4 separate regions of the Homo sapiens genome follow, and regions 1, 2 and 3 are each linked to region 4. Evidence: promoter capture Hi-C in 16 types of primary human blood cells and fetal thymus (Javierre and others, 2016). All regions are on one chromosome and are shown on one strand. The core of a region is centred on a gene start or on the middle of the fragment in contact, and the rest is flanking DNA. Distances in the headings are between cores, read along the strand shown. Region 1 overlaps TNKS1BP1 (tankyrase 1 binding protein 1). Region 2 overlaps P2RX3 (purinergic receptor P2X 3). Region 3 has its middle 9.6 kb from the start of PRG2. Region 4 holds the start of ZDHHC5 (zDHHC palmitoyltransferase 5).

Region 1 (3,914 bases), core at 1,240-3,739, 360 kb before region 4:
AGGAGGCACAAAGTGACCACCTTCCATCTTGCTAGAAGGGCTAAAGCCAGCACCACTCACTCTGTCGTTGCCAATGATGCCAAACTGATAGCTCCTCTCACTGGCCTCGATGCAGAAGTCCCGGCTCCAGTCCTGCTGCCCTGGGCTAAATGCTGCCTCTCGCTGGGGGCCAACACTGAGGCTAAACTCACCGACCCAGCCTCGCTTTCCCATCTCCCCATCTTCCAGGTCAGCACTGCCAGGGCCCTGAGCCCCTGCCTGCTGTCTCTCCTGATGCCCTCCCACCTCCTGGCTAGCATCACTGTTTTGCCAGCTGCTCTGGTCTCTCTGCCCGAGTGCCCCATCCGGCACGTGGGCAGTGCTAGGACTGAACAAGCCCCCGGATCCTCTCTCTCCTGGCCGGCCAGCATCCCTGCTGCCCTCTCCAAGGCTGTCTTCCACACTTGGAATCTTCTTCTCAAATTCCTCATCCTGTTGCTGGGCTTCCTCGGGGCTGAACCCAGAGCTCAGGGGTCTCGTTCCAAAGCTTCTGTCCTGGGCGTCAAGGGTCCTGGAGCTGCCACCACTGCTGTAGTCCCTTATCCAAGCGCTCTTCCCAAACTCCTGTTCCTGTGGCTCCGCAGCCCGGCTGCCATAGGTGCCGAGTGACACATCTCTCTTCTGAAACTCCCAGTCCTGCTCATCGGCATCCTGGCTGCTGTACCTACCATGGTGGTCCCTCTTCCCCAAATCTTGGCCCTGCTCGTTGGCATCTTGGCTGGCATAAGCACCCAGAGAATCTCTCTTCCCAAATTCCCAGTCCCCAAGGCTTACATCTCGACTACTGTAGGTACCCAGTGAATCTCTCTTTCCGAATTCCTGGTCCTGGAGTTCTGCATCCCGGCTGGAGTAAGTGCCCTGGGAATCCCTCTTTCTGAACTCCCAGTCCTGAACATCTGCCTCCTGGCTCCGCTGAGTGCCAAGCTGGGCTGGCTTTCCAACTACCCGGTCCTGGGCTGTGAGCACCCCTGGGGCAGACACTTTACTCTGGTCTTGGCTGCTGCTGGCCTCCATCTCCTCCTGGCCGATGCCACACCTGCTGGCCCACTCCCTGGTGCTCCCTTCCCCTGCTCCTTGCCCATACTTGCTGGTCCAGTCCCTCTCTCCGAGACCTGGGTCTCCTCTAGGGCTTGCACCCCCAAGGCCATAGTCCTGAGAAGCACCTTGACACCAGCTGGAAGGACTGAAACTGCTGGGCTGTGGGTCTCCTGTGATCCCAAATTCACTCTGCAGATCTTTCTGGGACCAGCCAAGGAGTCCCTGGGAATAAGAAAAAAAAACAGACAAAGAAACAACGATTAGATTCCATCAGGGTGGGAGTCAATCCAGCAGAGTCAGCGCTGCCTAGTGCCTGAAAGCCCCACTTTGGCAACAGAAAGCTGTGTGACCTTGAGCAAATCACTTAACCACTCTGGGTCTCAGCGTCCTCATCCTTAAACGAGGATAATTCCTATTGCATGGGGCTGGTGTGAGAGGATTAAATGAGATCATTTAGACCAAGCACTCAGCATAGTGCTTGGCATGCAGTGGGCACTCAATCGATGGTCCCATGGTCATGTTTACAACTCTTGGGCAATACTTGGCTAACAGCCAGGAGAGGAGTGGTCTTCACACAGGAATGGCAGGCAGTGCACTTTCCTTTTGATTAGGAGAGGTCAAGATTCAAAGCCTCTCTGCGACTTCCCTTGCAAGGCAAGGTTCCAACACCAATGACAGCTTTTCCAGCCCGTCCTCCCCCATGCCCCATCTGACCCCCATCCTCCTATAAGTACCCAGGCCCTTCTTCCCCAGCCAAAGTGCCGTCTGCTCAATCTTCCCCAGGAAGACCTCTCAGCCCTCACCCTGGCCCAGGAAAGACAAGAGGGGCAGCCTCTGGCACAGGGGAAAATCCCAGCCAGGGCTTCTTGCACCCCACCCCCCACCTCACGCTCCCTGACTCACCCTTGTGGGCGGGAGAGCCCTGGGCTCAGGGCTTCGGAGCCGGCCAGCCTCATCCCTCAGCGCAGCGTTGGCCAGCAGCCGCTCCAGGATAGACATGCTGGCCTCCCCATCCCCAGGCTGGGCCATGGCCCCCCGCCCCCAACCCGCCTTGGGGCTGCTGGGTGCGGCCAGCCGGGCGCAGGGATAGAGCTGGGCTGCTACCCGCGCTGGGACCTGTCCGACGGCTCTGGCGCTGGCTCTCCCTCACCCTGGCCCTGCTCCCTCCGGAGCAGCTGCAGCTTGGGCAGCCCCGCCCAGGAGCCAGTTGAGTCACCCACATCCCGGGACAGACACACCTACTACAGGAGTCAGCTTAACCCCTTCCTGCTCCTCCTTCTCCCCGCCCCGCAGCCCCCAGAGGCCCCCTGGCTCCTCCTTTCCTGCAGCCCCGCCCCTTGCAGCCCAGGCCCGGCTTGAGAAATAAATTTCGAAAGCCACCTGGCCCCCGGCCCTTAAATTCAGAGGCAGCCTGGTAGGAGAAAGGGCACTGGGCCGGGAAACGGCGCTGGCCCGGGCCCAGCCACCAACTTGCTGGATAACTGCACAAGGCTAACCTCCTCTGAGGCCCAGCTGCCTGTCTACAAAGCAGGTCTGGAGCTCAATGTTAATAACGTTTGTAAAAGCCAACACTTCTTAAGCACTTAGGATGAGCCAGGCACTATTCTTAGCACTTTAGACATTACAGCTCATTGAACCCTTGCCAACACCCTTGGAGGTAGAACTCATCTTGTTATCCACATTTTACAGATGTGGAAACTGAGGCAGAGGGCAGAAAAGTCACTCTTTTAAGGTCACACCTGGGCAAAGGAAAGCAGAGCCAGGAGATGAACCCAGGAGCCCACGCTCTAAATGGCTACACTATTTTGCCTTGAACGATATTCCCATAATGAGAGACTGAATACTCAGCACCTGCCACGCACTGTGCCGAGAGCTTTCCACCTCGATTTACCCACAATATAACTCTAAGAGGCCAATGCTACTATCAGGAAAGCACTCTGAAGCCCAGCAGTTAAGGTACGTTCTTCCCAAGACCAATCAGCTAGCGATTGCTGGAGCTGGGATAGAGCCTCACACGAAACCCCACACACACACCGTCCTGTGTGGCTCTGCAGAGCTACAATCTGCAGGTCCACAGCTGCCTTGCTCACTACCACAGCCCAAGCTCTCGACATGTAAAATCCATGTTCAAAGAATGAAGCCCACCCAAGCCCTGGCCTCTGTCCCCAGAAGTCCCATTCTCCCTATGCCCATTCTCACCTCAGAGCAGGTACTTGGGGACTGTGTGTCCTTCAGCTCAGCTCCAGCTCCCCGCCTTGCACCGCCACCACTGGGTGGTGGTGAAGCCAGGAGGTCGTCCAGCCAGCGGGAGCTGCTTTCAGGGCCTGGAGGCTCGGGGGATGCCCTACACAAGTCTTGAGCCTCTGTCCTGGCTTGGGTGGTCTCAGCCCGGGCTAGGGTCACGGCCTCCTCCTCAACAGGCAGTGCCTGTCCAGGCTCAGGGGCATCAGCAAAGAGAACACAGGGCTGGTCAGGGGCTGCTGGCTGCTCCTGCCCCAGGACTGGCTCCAGGATGGGCAAGGCTGCCTCCCTGGTAGCCAGGGGGAGAGGGGACTCCTGTCCAGCCAAGGGCTCCTGCGACTCGTATCTCTCCTCTGCCTGCTGCAAAGGTAATCCAGGTGTGCCCTCAGTTGTAGGCAGGGGCTCAAGGGGAACAGCTGGGAATTGAGGTTGACTCTCCCCATCGCCCTTCTGGGTGAGGGACATGCTTGGATCATCCCCCTGCACCCAGGAACTTCCTGACCCACTTGGAGCTGACCCAGCCCCTTGCCCCTGCTGAGACACTCCTTCTTCCCTGCTGGAAACGGCCAAGTTGCCAGCCTCAGCAGCCTCGGCGG
Region 2 (4,664 bases), core at 559-3,058, 320 kb before region 4:
TTCACACTTCACCTCAGGCAAAGGCCTTAGATCTGTAATAAGCCCCAAACGACGGGAAAGTAGACCTGTGGCCACTTTCTCCTGTGTTGTAGCTAAAGCACTGAAGATCCCAAAATTAGGACTCAGAGGCTCCAATGTTCGCATCCGAGCCACAACCTTTTTTTTTTTTTTTTTTTTTGAGACAGAGTCTCGATCTGTCTCCCAGGCTAGAGTGCATGGCGCGATTTCGGCTCACTGCAACCTCCGCCTCCCAGGTTCACGCCATTCTCCTGCCTCAGCTTCCGGAGTAGCTGGGACCAAGCCCGGCTAATTTTTGGTATTTTTAGTAGAGTCAGGGGTTCGCCGTGTTAGCCAGGATGGTCTCGATCTCCTGACCTCGTGATCCGCCCGCCTCGGCCTCCCAAAGTGCTGGGATTACAGGCGTGAATCACCGCACCCGGCCACCACAGCACTTCTTTACTGAGCAGTATATGACATGTCACTTTCCGTTCTCCCTGCCTCCGTCTCCCACCTGGAGGATGGGAGGAAATCATTTGTCACCACCTCCACCCCACCCCCACCCTGGCCCAGAGCAGGGAGTCAGAGGGCGAGGGGAAAGCTCATACCCGGCCCGTTTCTTCAGGGGGGAGTTCTGGGCATTAAGATCGGCTGGGTGTGCGACTTGGACAAGGCCTGGGACCAGTGCATCCCCAAATACTCCTTCACCCGGCTCGACAGCGTTTCTGAGAAAAGCAGCGTGTCCCCAGGCTACAACTTCAGGTAATTCCCTGTCTCCTGGGACACCAGGAGAAGAAGGTGCGGGCTGTTAACGGCAATGTTTATTGGGGAGACAAGATCCCACATCCATCCACCCACCCCTGGCCCCAAGTCCCACCTCAGGTTTCATTTCAAATCAGGAAGGACTCTCTAACAGCCATTAGGATCTAGCTGGTTGTCCTGGGAGACAGTGTCTCCTTATCACTGAAGGGGACCACGCCAAGGATTCCTGCTGCAGGTCAGTAGTTAGAAGAGAGGGCCAAGGTCTCTTGAAATGCTAGGGTTCTGCGATTCTTTGCCTGTTCCTAACACTGGCCTGAAACTGTGACGTGCTTAAGTGACTTCCAGATAGGCCCATTCCCTGCCCTGGGCCTGAATTTTCTAAGGTTTCTCGCTCTACAAAGTAAGGGTGATAACTGGTATCATTTTACATTTTACAAGATGGCAACTTTGCATTTCTCTCCGCAAACGTGTGTCACCAGTAGCAATTATAATTGTCTCTGGTTCTTCAATGCCTCTCCAAACAAGAACTCAGACCAGTCTTTAAATATCATCCCAATGGCTTTGAGACTTCAGGGATCTTTTCGGGTTTTGTTTTGTTTTGTTTTTCCATTTTGAAGAAAGGGAGAGAGGAATTAGAGGACAAACTGTTTGGAAGCAACTGAAAGCGCTTGAACAAGCCATTTGTCTTCTCCCATCCTAATTTCCCCACCTATGAAATTGTGATAGTACCACTGTGATCTTCAGGATTCAATTAACCAATGTGTGAAAAGCTTCAGCTTTCTGTTTTGTTTCTCTCTTCTTTTTTTTCTGAATCATTCATTTATTGATTCATCCATTAAACACATACCAATTGTCTACTACGTGCTGAGGACCGTACTCAGTTATCTTAGGTTAGCAGTTCTCAAAGTGTAGACTACAAGGTCAACACTACTTATTAAAGGTTTTGTTTTCTTTTTAATTGATAAATAACAATTGCATATATATGGGATACAATGTGATGTTTTGATACATGTATACATTGTGGATTTCCCCCAGTTTTTGAAGATCCTGAAGTTTCTGGCAGGGCCCTGTTTAAGTACACAGCATTATACACTAAACAGCTTAAATAGAACAAATAGGGAGTGACCAGGGGAAAAAAATACATAAGAATATATTTCATTTACATTTGAACATAAGAATGTATATTTGAATATATTCAAATAAATGTTACTCAAATTTCCTTTGTTGAGGTGGTATTCTCTGATACAATGGCATACGTAAGCCAAAAATAATCATTTCACCTTTTAAAATTGTTAATTTATAACTTAAAAAAATAATCACCCACCCCATTAAGCTTTATATTTAATAGTTTAAAATATACATGTATATTCTCTGGAAAGAAGAATCTTTAAAAATTGAAGTACTTTCATCATCAACTCCAAACTTTAAAAAAACCATAGGAAACAACACATATTTTAAAGTAGGTTAAAAATACTGTGCGGCTCACTGGCAGAAATTGGCATATTTATTCAGTTGGTATATCACACTGAGATCAATACAAAGGATATTTGTATGGTGGCTTAAAATAGTAACATATTAATAAAATTCTCATGATCTAAAATGCAAGTTTTCATCTTCATAACTTCCCTTTGGCCATTGGGAATTCTTTAATCCTCCAAATAACTCATTTGGCAGAAAAGCTTATGAAGAATGTGAATATTATAAAGACCCCCAACTACTGATATCGTACAGTTTTAGAACAGCATCTCTCATCTAAATAAGAATTGGTCTGGAGTTCTTTATCTCCAATTTATTGCACTGTGGCTGCCTTCCCTCCCTCCCCACCTGAGCACAGAAGGATGCGGGATAGACCTGGTCCTAAATAAGCTTGGAGGGTATTTGGGGAGGCAGGACGGAATATCCCCAAAGACCCTGCCTGCATAATTCCCAGAGGCCTAAGAGAAACCACCCCCTCTTAGGATCTCAGATAATTGACTCCCCCAACAAAGTCCCCCAGGCCAGAGAAGAAGGAGGCAAAGCTGCTTAGTTTGACCCTTGTGATTTAAAAGTTTCCAGAGGGCCCAAGTAATAGCCCTGACATTGGGGGACATCTGATATCAGTGGCAAGCAGAGGGCTCTGCCCAAGCCCCTTCCCATCCCTTCACCTGGGTGCCCACCCACCACCCTCATGCAACCTCAAACTACTGGCACCCAAGGCTAAGCTAAGAGCCCACGTGTGGGAGGCTGCAAAGCTGTCTTTCTGAATGCTTGAATAAGAGAGAAAGGGTCACAAAGCCAGGTTCAGTGCGGGTCACAGTGCACTTTCTATGATATGGTAAGATGTACGCTGTTTTTTAGAATCTCACCAAGCTACTTATCAGTAGAAACCATACTAGTCACCCTGTGTGCAAAACGTTTTGTGTGCTTCAGCTCAGCATTCCTTGCATGCCCTACGAAGTAGATGCTACAATATCCCCCCCAACTTTATAAAGGAGAAGATGGAGTCTCACTGTTAAATAACATTCTCAAAGTCACAAAGCAAGCAAGAGGGGGAGCCTGGATTCAAAACATATTTCTTTGGATGATCTCCACCCCAGCCAGGAAGACTAGGGACATTTGTACTTGTTAATCCTCAGAAAAAAAAGCATGCCTATGTGGTTGACACTTTCATCCCAGCTTAAAAACAAAGAATCTAAGTTCCAAGGAGATTTCAAGACTAGCAGATGCTGGCAGCACAATTCATAGCCCGGCCTTTTGTCTCCCAAACAATTCATTTGCTGCTCCCTCCAACAGAGGCAGATTTTTCAACACCCCTACTGTTGCCATTTGCTCTGGAGGGAATGGAATTATTCAGCCAAGATTCGGCCGTGTTTGAATCTGCTAACTAAGACATCCAGAGGCAGCTAGAGATTCACATTTCCATCACTAATTACATTCGCAGCTCCCTTCCAAATGTCACTCCCCCCCCCCCGCCCCTATTTTTTGTAGCTCTTTGCCTGCAGAATCAGAGATTTTGAGAATTTATAGCTGTTGAAGTTCCCCTTGCAGTCACCCAGAGTAAGGCGGTCACTTTACAGATGAGGAAGCGGAAGTTCCAAAGGGGGCATCTTAGAGTAGCCTCAAAGGTCATTGGATCTCAACTCCTAATGTGACCCTTGTGATTTAAAGGAGTTTACGGACCCATGTAAGAGATTACAGGCCCATGTAATCACCCTGACACTGGGGGATATCTGATCTCCGTGGCAAGCAAAGTGGCCTGCTCCATTCATTGGAAAGGTGACCTCAAATTGAGCCAAAATGTGCCTCCCTTTAAATCCTCTCCAGTGTACTTGGTGCTGTCCATGCAAGTTAATCTTTATTTTTGTGATCCCCTAAAGATTCTGTTCTTCCCCTACCTGAAATTTAGTGGAGACATTTTATTTTTACTCCTTGGTCTGTTCTGCGTGGCTAAAGACTCCGTGGGCCGCTTTAACTTAGTATTTTTATGAAGCCTCTTTCTAAGCACACTGAGATTGCAGTTGGTGGGGTCATCTGGATTTCTAGCAGACAAAATGCAGCAATTTCTAAAAATAAGAACTGTTGAGAGTCACCAGTTCAGTGCTGCACAAGTGAAAGGCGCCCTCAGCAGAGCCCTGCAGTTCTTCAGGAGGCTCTCTTCTCTGTTGGCAAGGTTTCTGAGGCCCAGGTAGACCCTCAATTCACAGGAGCAGGATTTTAACAAGAGTACTATATTTCCCAAAGTCCTGGGAACAGGTGATGTTGTGTGTGTGTGTGAGTGTGTGTGCACATGCGAGTTCGTGAGAGTGGGTGTATTTGTTAGTGGGTGAATGTGTGAGGCTGAGAGTGAGTGTGTCAGTGTGTGTGTGTGTGCGTGAGTGTATAGGCATTGATGGTGCAATGACAGATTAAAAATACTGTATCCGTCA
Region 3 (4,353 bases), core at 1,514-4,013, 270 kb before region 4:
AACACATCTCAGACTGAACTCAACACACACACACACACACACACACACACACGCACAAACCTGCTTCACTTTTTGTGGTCACTTTCTCAGGAGAAACCATCACCTTCCAACTAGACCTGCAAGGCAGGACTCTGGTCATCCTTCACCCCTCCTGCCCATCATCCACACATTAGTTAGTTATAGTGCTTTCTTCACCATCTCATCCAGCCACCCATCCCCATTGCCTCTGCCACTTTCCTAGTCACCTGCTGACCGTTTTTCACCTGGATCATTTCAGTGGCTCCCAAATTACTTTCCCTGCCTCCAGTCTTACCACCCTCCTCCACCTCTGATGCACTGTCTACAAGCAGCCAAAATGAGCTTTCTAAAACCCAGAGCTAATCACACCAGCACTTTCCAATTACTCCTTCTTGCTCTCAGGCACAGTCTCCTTATGTTTTAGCGCCTACTTACCTAAACCTCTCAACACTGTGGACATTTTTGACTGGATACTTTTTTGTTACAGAGGCCTGTCCTGTGCATTGTTAGATGTTTAGCAGCCTCTCTAGCCTCTACCAAAAAGATACTAGTAGTACCTTCTCGGCTGGGCTGTGACAATCAAAAAATGTCTGCAGACATTACCAAATGTCCCCTCTGAGGCAAAACTATGCTCAGTTGAGAACCACTTCTTGACAACCTCAATTCTCCCCCTCACCACACACACACAGTGCTCCAATCATGTTGAACACCCTGCTATTTTCCTAACATGCCATGATCACCCATATTTTGTCACATGTCATTTCATCTGCCCAGAATGCCCTTTCCTCCCTAACCACTGCGCTCTTTCCTTTTCTTCATCGAAGTTTCAGCCAAGGATCACCTCTTCCAGGAAGCCTGCCTTGGCTCTCCCAGAGAAAGGTAGCAAGGACACTAATCAGGGCTTCTCTCTAGTCCAGCCCTCTTCCCACCTCATTGTAGCAATCTTCTTGCTGTTTCCCCAGTAGAGCCAGAGCCTTGCTTCCTTCACCTGTGCCTCTCTGGTCCTGCACAGTTCTGGAAACACAGTACAGGCTCAATTCATGTTTGCTGTGTAAGTGAATAAATGAAGAAAAGCAATTTTTGTTTAAGCTTGTCAAAGATTGAGTTGGGCTCCCTGAAATGAGATCTTAGGCAGAAATTTTAATAACGATAACAACAGCAGCAACTAATATTTAGGAAGTGTTTCTAGGTGCTAAGTATGTTAAGTGCTCCATATTATTCAACCTTCTAAACAACTCTAGGACACAAGTGCCATTAAACTACCTAAATTACAGACAAACAGCTGATCCTGGGAATGGTTAAGTCATTTTCCAGGTAAGTGTCAGAGCCAGGATCCGAATGGAGCGGCTGCACTCTTGTCCGTGACTCACTTCCCCTGTGGTGGTGAATAACTAGCACAAAGCCATTTACATACGTTGTTTAATGTAACTTACCCTGTAAGTTGCATGGGGCAGGTGATGATTTGGAAAGCACAAAGAATGTGGTCCTCGGATGTTAAAAGACCCTGGTTAAAAAATAAAAATAAAAAAATAAAAAAATAAAAGACCCTGGTTCCATTCTTGGCTCTGCTGCCCATAAGCTGGACCTCCTTGGCAGTTCCCTCATCCCCCCAGTCTCCTGTTGCTCATCTGTGAGTTGTTAAGGATGACCACCTCACAGATGTTGCAGGGCTTGAGGAGGACCAATTGAAATGTGGTGGTACAATAATCTACTAAGTGCCTGAAACATGGTGCCCCCAACAAACAAACAACAATGCTGAATATTGTCCTATGTTAGGGATAGAAAAAGCAAGGCTTGGAAAACTTAAGTGATAGTCCAAATTTTGCATGCCAGCAAACGGTGGAGCTTGGAAAAGAACTCTAAGTCTTCCGTTGGCCATGAGGAGAAATTTTCTGAGCCTCTTCTGCATAAGTGCTCATTACCGTGTGAGACACATCACAGTCCTCACCATCAGGGAACTAGAAGCTCAGAGCTGGGATTGTAGGTTGAATCTCTCTCTCTCTCTCTCCCTCTCCTCTCTCTCTCTCTCTCTCTCTCATGTCCAGTATTTACTGAGCCTCCATTCTGTGCTAAGTAGGGTACAAAGTTCTCAGGATACAGTAGGCAATACAAAATATACAGCTGCTGCCTGCGTGGAGTTCCCAAATGAAAGCCTAATGGAAGACACAACTGAATATTTTTAAAATCCTATGATGGTACATTAAACTGCAACTGTGACAAGCTCTATGCCAGAGAGGTACCTGGTGCTATGAAAACCAGTACTAGGTAACAGTACAGAAAGGAAGGGATATCTGAGCTGAGAACTGAGGGAACTATAGGAGTTAGCTATAGGTTGGGTAGGACACATTCCACAGAAACACAATAAAACTGTTTCACAGCCAGGTGCGGTGGCTCATGCCAGTAATCCCAGCACTTTGGGAGTCTGAGTTGGGCAGATCACAAGGTCAGGAGTTTGAGACCAGTCTGGCCAATATGGTGAAACCCCGTCTCTACTAAAAATACCAAAAAAAATTAGCTGGCGTGGTGGCACATGCCTGTAATCCCAGCTACTCGGGAGGCTGAGACAGGAGAATTGCTTGAAGGCAGAAGTTGCGGTGAGCCAAGATCGTGCCACTGCACTCCAGCCTGGGTGACAGAGCGAGACTCTGTCTCAAAACAAACAAACAAAAAAACTGTTTCACTGTCATGTAGCGTACTTGACCTGTAATGTGATTTTGCGTATGTAATAAAAATTAGTAGCTGCCATTAATGAAGGACCTACTATGTGCCAGGGCCGAGCACTTTTCACGTAGAGCCTTACTTATCCTTATTACTCTCTGAGGTAGGCATTATAGGTAGCAAACAAAGGCACTAAGATGCTTCATGACTCCTACAAGGACACCCAATCTAAGAACGTGATAACAGGACCCAGATCTGTCTGCCTGCACTCTTCCCCAGCCCAGGGCTCTGAAAGGAATTCATAGCCCTGCCCCTGGTAATTGACATTTCTGTGTGCTTGGATTCTCTCCATTGACTGCTGGGGAGACAAAAGTATCGCAAAAATTGAATATGAAGATTGATATTTTTCATTGACTTTGGCTTAAGATTTGGGGTAACTCGAAAGTCTTTTTTTTTTTTTGCCTTTGAAGTTTTCCCATTCCAAGTAATAAAGAACTTGTGTTGTTTTGTTCGGTGGAGACAAGCTAAAGCGAGTGCTTGCAGGGAGGTTTTCTATCCTGAACTATAATAGTGGCATTCCAGACTCCACAAGGTGTGAAGTGTGGTGCACGCTCTGAAGGGCACACAGATGTTACTAATAACACCTGCAGCCACACACAGCACACCTGCTACAAGCCAGGTGGTTTATATTGATCACTCACTACATGCCAGGTCCCCTTTGAAGTGCTTGACGTTCATCCAGCCACTCAATCCTTACAACTCTATAAAGTATTCCTATTGTTACTCCATTTTACAGATGAAGCAGCGGAGGTACCAGGAATCTAAGTGCCAGAGCTTGTGTGGGGAGGAACTGGAAGTTGGTCTTGGACAGTCCATCTCCAGAGCCCAAGCTGCTGCTACCTTTTATTCCCAAGGTTACTCTCTAGTCCTTGCAACAAACTGCCGTGGTACCTATTTCCATTACAGGTGAGGAAACTGAGGTTCAGGGTGGTTAAGGTCACACAGCTGATCAGTGCCTGCAAAGCCCAGAGCTTTCCCACACACCCTACTGCTCTAGCCAGCCTGCAGGCCTGGGAGGTGACACTGGACCCAGGAAAGAATATGCTGAGGGGCCTGTGAGCAGATGTTTGGGATTAGAACATAAAAACTCAAAATTGGGCGGGCCACGGTGGCTCATGCCTGTAATCCCAGTATTTTGGGAGGCCGAGGCGGGAGGATCACGAGGTCAAGAGATCAAGACCATCCTGTCCAACATGGTGAAACACAGTCTCTATTAAAAATACAAAAATTAGCCGGGTGTGGTGGTGCACACCTGTAGTCCCAGCTACTCAGGAGGCTGAGACAGGAGAATCGCTTGAACCGGGAGGCGAAGGTTGCAGTGAGCTGAGATCGTGCCACTGCACTCCAGCCTGGCGACAGAGAGAGACTCTGTCTCAAAAAACAAACAAACAAACAAACAAACAAACAAAACACCTCAAAATCCCTGGAGGGTCTGGTGTGAACACAAGCCATGGTCCTGGGTTTAAGATACACTCAGACATTGTCCTGTCTGTGAACTCCTTATCACCAGAGGACTGGATCTTATGCCTGGAAGCCTGGATGGAAAATGTTCTTCCCAAAGAATGTCAGAGGAATGACTCACTGCTGTGCCCATGTCACACCTGAAGCATTTGAGAG
Region 4 (4,832 bases), core at 1,354-3,853:
AAACTGGACAAGTGGAATCTCTGTCTTTCAACTTTGGGATAGTGATTATACCTCTGTTAGTGCTCATCCACCTAACAAAGCTTGGCAATCCAAGTTAGTATCCCAGGGGAGTTTAGTTTGGTTGGATGGTGGAAGACTGATTTTTTTTTTCCATTTAGCACTGTCTAGCCAAGAGACACCACTATTTACAAGTTCTTAGACAGCTGAAAGGAAAATAAAAATGCCTAATTTGTGGAGGAAATCAGGAAGTCTAAAAATCCAAGAAAAATATTGCAACAGAAAAATGAAAGCTGACTTCATCTTAAAGAAACATGGCTTACAGGTAGAAAATGCCAATATCAGGCCGGGCACTGTGGCTCACACCGGTAATCTCAGCACTTTGGGAGGCCGAGGTGGGAGGATCATTTGAGGTCAGGAGTTCCAGACCAATGTGGCCATCATGGTGAAACCCCATCTCTACTAAAAATACAAATATTAGCCAGGTGTGGTGGCACATGCCTGTGATCCCAGCTACTCAGGAGGCTGAGGCATGAGAATTGCTTGAACCCGGGAGGAGGTTGCCATGAGCTGAGATCGCGCCACTGCACTCCAGCCTGGGTGACAGTGTGAGACTCCCTCTCAAAAAGTAAAAAATAAAATATCAATATTGTATCTTCAATAATTTACCTTTCATATGGTCTAAAGAGGTTTTTGTTTTGTTTTGAGACGGAGTCTTGCTCTGTTGCCCAGGCTGGAGTGAAGTTGTGTGGTCTCGGCTCACGGCAACCTCTGCCTCCCGGGTTGAAGCAATTCTCCTGCCTCAGCCTCCCGAGTAGCTGGGATTACAGGCTCCCCCGACCATGCCCGACTAATTTTTGTATTTTTAGTAGAGGGAGTTTCACTATGTTGGCCAGGCTGGTCTTGAGCACCTGACCTCGTGATCCGCCTGCCTTGGCCTCCCAAAGTGCTGGGATTACAGGTGTGAACCACCACGCCAGGCCAGGTCTGTTTTAAAAATATAAAGTCGTTATAAAGAACTCTCAAGTGTGTTGCAATAAATGCTGGATTGACGCTGTTAACAAGAATAAACTAGAACTTATAATATATGCCATGTCAGAGAAGGAACTAGATTCCAGAAAACAGAAGGTAGTTCTCTTTTACCTTACTGCCTAATGCTAGTGTCAGAACCACAGTAAAGCCAGCAACATTTGAGACCAAACCCGAGGACAGTCCTCAGGATTTTACAGGTGAGGGGCCTCGGCTTCAGGGAAGTGGCTTGTGAAACACCTTTTTGAGGGACCATTATGTAATAGCTAGAGTTGCTTTCGAAAAAAGAAATAGCCTCGAGCCGAATGGGGAGAGAACATGGGGCATTGCTATTGGGTTCACAGCTGTCTTGGGCTAATCAGGGCAAAGCGTAGCACTATGACCTATGCAGAGTTAGCTCGCCAGGGACAGTAGCTATTCTAGAGAACCTTTTGCTTTTAGCTTTGTATTCTAGGATTGGGTGAGGTGAGGGATGCGGGCGCCCATCCCACGTGTGACAGTGGGAAACTAATGGAATTCAGGGAGTTCACTTCCCGGCTCGCACTCCGGGGGCGGGAGGGTGCTGCCACCGCCTCAGGTCGCGCGCTCCTTAGGCTTCCCTCTCACGGTTAGCGCTACGGCTCCAAGGCTGGCGCCTGCTCTTCTTCATCTCCCTCCCCGGCCCTTGGCAGGAGCCTCGCCCTACATTGGCTCTTCAAGTCCGGGCGTCCCCTTCATGTGGGAGACACAGCCCAGACCATTCCATCGCCCTGGATTCTGCCCGGACCAGCGACCTCGCCGGACTGAAGATTTCTCCAGCAAGATTGTTTTAAATAAAGTTTTTGCCATCAAAAAAAAAAAAAAAAAAAAAAAAGGAGATGGGAAGGAGAAGAGGGAGGCCTAGTCGCCAAATGGTTGGCCAATCCGCCGCGAAGGGGCTGAAGCAGGAAGCGGCGATAGTCGTCGGTAATTGGCTGCGCTGGAAGCCTGTCTGGACTGTACCACCTCAGTAGGAGAGGGGTTGCTGAATTCGAGAAGGTAGCTGCTTGCTTTTGAGTACTTCTAGTACACACACATAATTCTTTTCTTATTTCCGGGGGTTTTTGCTTGGATTCAGTGGGAATACAACAGGACGCAGGAGAAGGGAAGACTCGCCTGGCCATTTCCTCATTCCTGACTCCTGTGCATTAGGCCAATCCTTGTCTCTTAGTTGTCCCCGCAACCCCACGGCCTTACGTGCGCGCTCTCGTCTTCTCGCGTGCGTACGTCGTTGTGTTGCTGCAGCCAATCAGGCCGCGAGGTCGCCGCGGTCGCCAGGGTTCGCGCGCACGCCCCAGATCGGAGTCGGGGTGGGGGCTATGGGTGAATGGGAGAGTGAGCGGGGTTGGGCGCGGCAGCGCGAGCCGCATGAATGAGACAAACGTGCGCCGCGCGAGACGTCGCGCGAGCCCGGACTAGGGAGCCAATGGGAACGCTGGAAGGGTTCGAGACCCGGCACTGAGGGCAACGGCCGCGCGCCGGCTCCGAGACGAGCGACGCCTGGCGGGAGCGCGCGGCAGCGGGGCGGGCGTGGAGCGTGCGGGGGCCGCGCGCTGCTTCTCTGAGGCAGGACGGCACTGCCGGGAGGCGGCGGTGACAACGACGGCGGTGGTGACGGGCACCGGGCTCGCGGGTGAGTGCGGAGGACACCGGTCCCTGCGGAACCGGAAGTGCCGTACCAGCGAGGTGGGAGGGGAGGGTGACCTCTAGGGAAGGGGGACCGAAGACGGGGAGGGTATTAAGGCCCTATTTCTCCTCCGGGCCGGGTCTTCCAACCGCGGCGGGACCCATGGGCCTTGGAAACGGACGACGAGTAGAGGCCGGGGATCCACGACCGCCAGGGCTCGGAACGGGTTAGAGACGGCCACTCAGCTCGAGACCGCGGTCCCCGGTGCCTGGCGCCCAGCCGCCGCCCCTTCCGCCCCCGGCCCTGCGCCCTCGGGCTCTGCGGTCCCCGCAGCCCGCTCTCTCAACCTCGGTGGGCCTGGCCGCCGTGGATTCCTTCTTTTCGGTTTCAGCGGTCGTCAGCCCTGCCCCAACGGGTGATTCTCCTTTCCCCAGTCCCGTGGTGGGGACCGGGTGCTGTTTCCCTTTTACCGCTCTGCGGTTCGAGTCCCTCGCTCCACTCTGCTGATACTTATTTTGGCTCAAGCTTCATCCTGTTACCTGTTCTCTCTCACCCGTCCGCTTCCTCCTCCTACCGCCACCAGCCGAGTGCTCCATGCGTTTAGTACTTTGTACTTTTTAAAGTGGAGCCCGAATGCGTTTGTCAATATTTTACCTATATTTGGGGCAGGCAGGTGGAAAGTGTTTTACCCACTTGGCCAAATGAAACACTGAAATAAGAAGTAAGAAAGTTGCTAAAAGTTAGGAAGGCAGTTGTAGGATCACATATACGTTATACGCTAGACTATTTTTTGCCTTGGATTCTTCACTTCCTGGTTAATGCCATCTTGACCAAGTTGATCTAACATTTGCATATCATCCTTCTATCTCAGTATACCTCTGTCCTGGATCAAATATCTTCAGAATGCTCATTATCACCCATTGTATAAACTTAATGTTTACAAAATTATATTGCCATGTATTTTGCTACCTCGGTATATAATGATAACACCCACATTAAACTTCTTGGCTCTTTCTCCCATACCTTGACATGTGAATTATTCCATGGTACCTCCATTACTGTGCATTTAGATTTACTCTATTGTACTGTTACACCGCTTATTTCAACAAAAAATAGTTGTGTTGTCCTTGGTACTGCTGGTATCCACCTATTTAAGGAAATACCTGTATTAAACCTTATTAAAGCCTTCAAACCACATATCCTGTATTGTTTGTTTTACATATACATATTTCCATTTCATAGTTTACTCTGTGCCTCAATATGGCATACATATTACTTTTTTTCTCATTTTTGAGACGGAGTCTGGCTCTGTCGCCCAGGCTGGAGTGCAGTGGCTGCTATCTTGGCTCACTGCAACTTCCACCTCCCGGGTTCAAGCGATTCTCGTGTCTCAGCCTCCCTAGTAGCTGGGATTTCAGGCATGCCCCATCACGCCCTGCTCATTTGTTTGTATTTTTAGTAGAGACAGGGTTTTGGTATGTTGGCCAGGCTGGTCTCGAACTCCTGACCTCAAATGATCCGCCCGCCTCGGCCTCCCAAAGTGCTGGGATTACAGGCGTGAGCCCCCGTGCCCAGCTGGCATACATATTCTTGTATACTTTTTTGATACTAGTATGGATTCAAACTGTTGACTCTGATGAACCATACTCACCCTTGTGGTTTCATCCTAGTATCTGCAGCACATTCTTTTGCTAAGAATTGGTTCATCTTTATTTATACCCAATAAATTGTTAGGTTTTTGATTTCCCTTCTACTGTGTAGCCCCCAAGCATCTCAGATGCTGTTCTCTTTTGTGTTCCCAGTATTATACTCCCAAAATTGCATGGCCTTTCATGACTCTGTATTACTATGTCAATATTAGTCCATGTGACTTTTTTCCTGTGGAAAATATATGAAACAATATATAGTATCTAAATGATATTCTACTCTAGATAAAATTTAAGTAGTATAATTTTCCATCTTTTCTAGTCTTTGGGATTTTGAGGGAAAAGTTTGCTTTAATAGTACATATTGGCTGGGCAGAGTGTCTCACACCTGTAATCCCAGCACTTTGGGTGAGGAGGCAGATCACCTGGAGGTCAGGAGTTCGAGACCAGCCTGGGCAACATGGTGAAACCCCATCTCTACTAAAAATACAAAATTAGCTGGGTGTGGTGGTGCC

The links. Contacts are between HindIII fragments. The CHiCAGO score rates a contact against its expected background, and 5 or more counts as called.
Region 1: a fragment that was not itself captured here is called in contact with the fragment with the promoter of ZDHHC5 in region 4 in 1 of 17 cell types (fetal thymus); the score reaches 6.6 in fetal thymus.
Region 2: a fragment that was not itself captured here is called in contact with the fragment with the promoter of ZDHHC5 in region 4 in 14 of 17 cell types (M1 macrophages, M0 macrophages, activated CD4 T cells and 11 more); the score reaches 13.3 in M1 macrophages.
Region 3: a contact is called between a fragment that was not itself captured here and the fragment with the promoter of ZDHHC5 in region 4, in 1 of 17 cell types (activated CD4 T cells). The highest score is 5.8, in activated CD4 T cells.

What each region holds. Positions count from the first base shown.
Region 1 is chr11:57,309,258-57,313,171 of GRCh38, forward strand. It overlaps TNKS1BP1 (tankyrase 1 binding protein 1), which reads right to left. Exons shown (of 12, transcript NM_033396.3): 5 at 3,277-3,914; 6 at 1-1,299. Among named protein-coding and RNA genes, the nearest start is that of TNKS1BP1, 14 kb to the right of the region's middle. RefSeq lists a silencer at 2,014-2,223. The HindIII fragment of the contact is 3,931 bases long and covers 525-3,914 here.
Region 2 is chr11:57,350,140-57,354,803 of GRCh38, forward strand. P2RX3 (purinergic receptor P2X 3) reads left to right here. Exons shown (of 12, transcript NM_002559.5): 8 at 623-759. Among named protein-coding and RNA genes, the nearest start is that of P2RX3, 14 kb to the left of the region's middle. RefSeq lists an enhancer at 1-189. The HindIII fragment of the contact is 563 bases long and covers 1,528-2,090 here.
Region 3 is chr11:57,398,045-57,402,397 of GRCh38, forward strand. No RefSeq gene overlaps it. Among named protein-coding and RNA genes, the nearest start is that of PRG2, 9.6 kb to the left of the region's middle. The HindIII fragment of the contact is 3,316 bases long and covers 1,106-4,353 here.
Region 4 is chr11:57,665,511-57,670,342 of GRCh38, forward strand. It overlaps ZDHHC5 (zDHHC palmitoyltransferase 5), which reads left to right and starts at 2,604. Exons shown (of 12, transcript NM_015457.3): 1 at 2,604-2,677. RefSeq lists enhancers at 1,656-2,235, 2,405-3,044, 3,045-3,682, 3,236-3,305 and silencers at 2,436-2,675, 2,926-3,125. The HindIII fragment of the contact is 3,116 bases long and covers 79-3,194 here.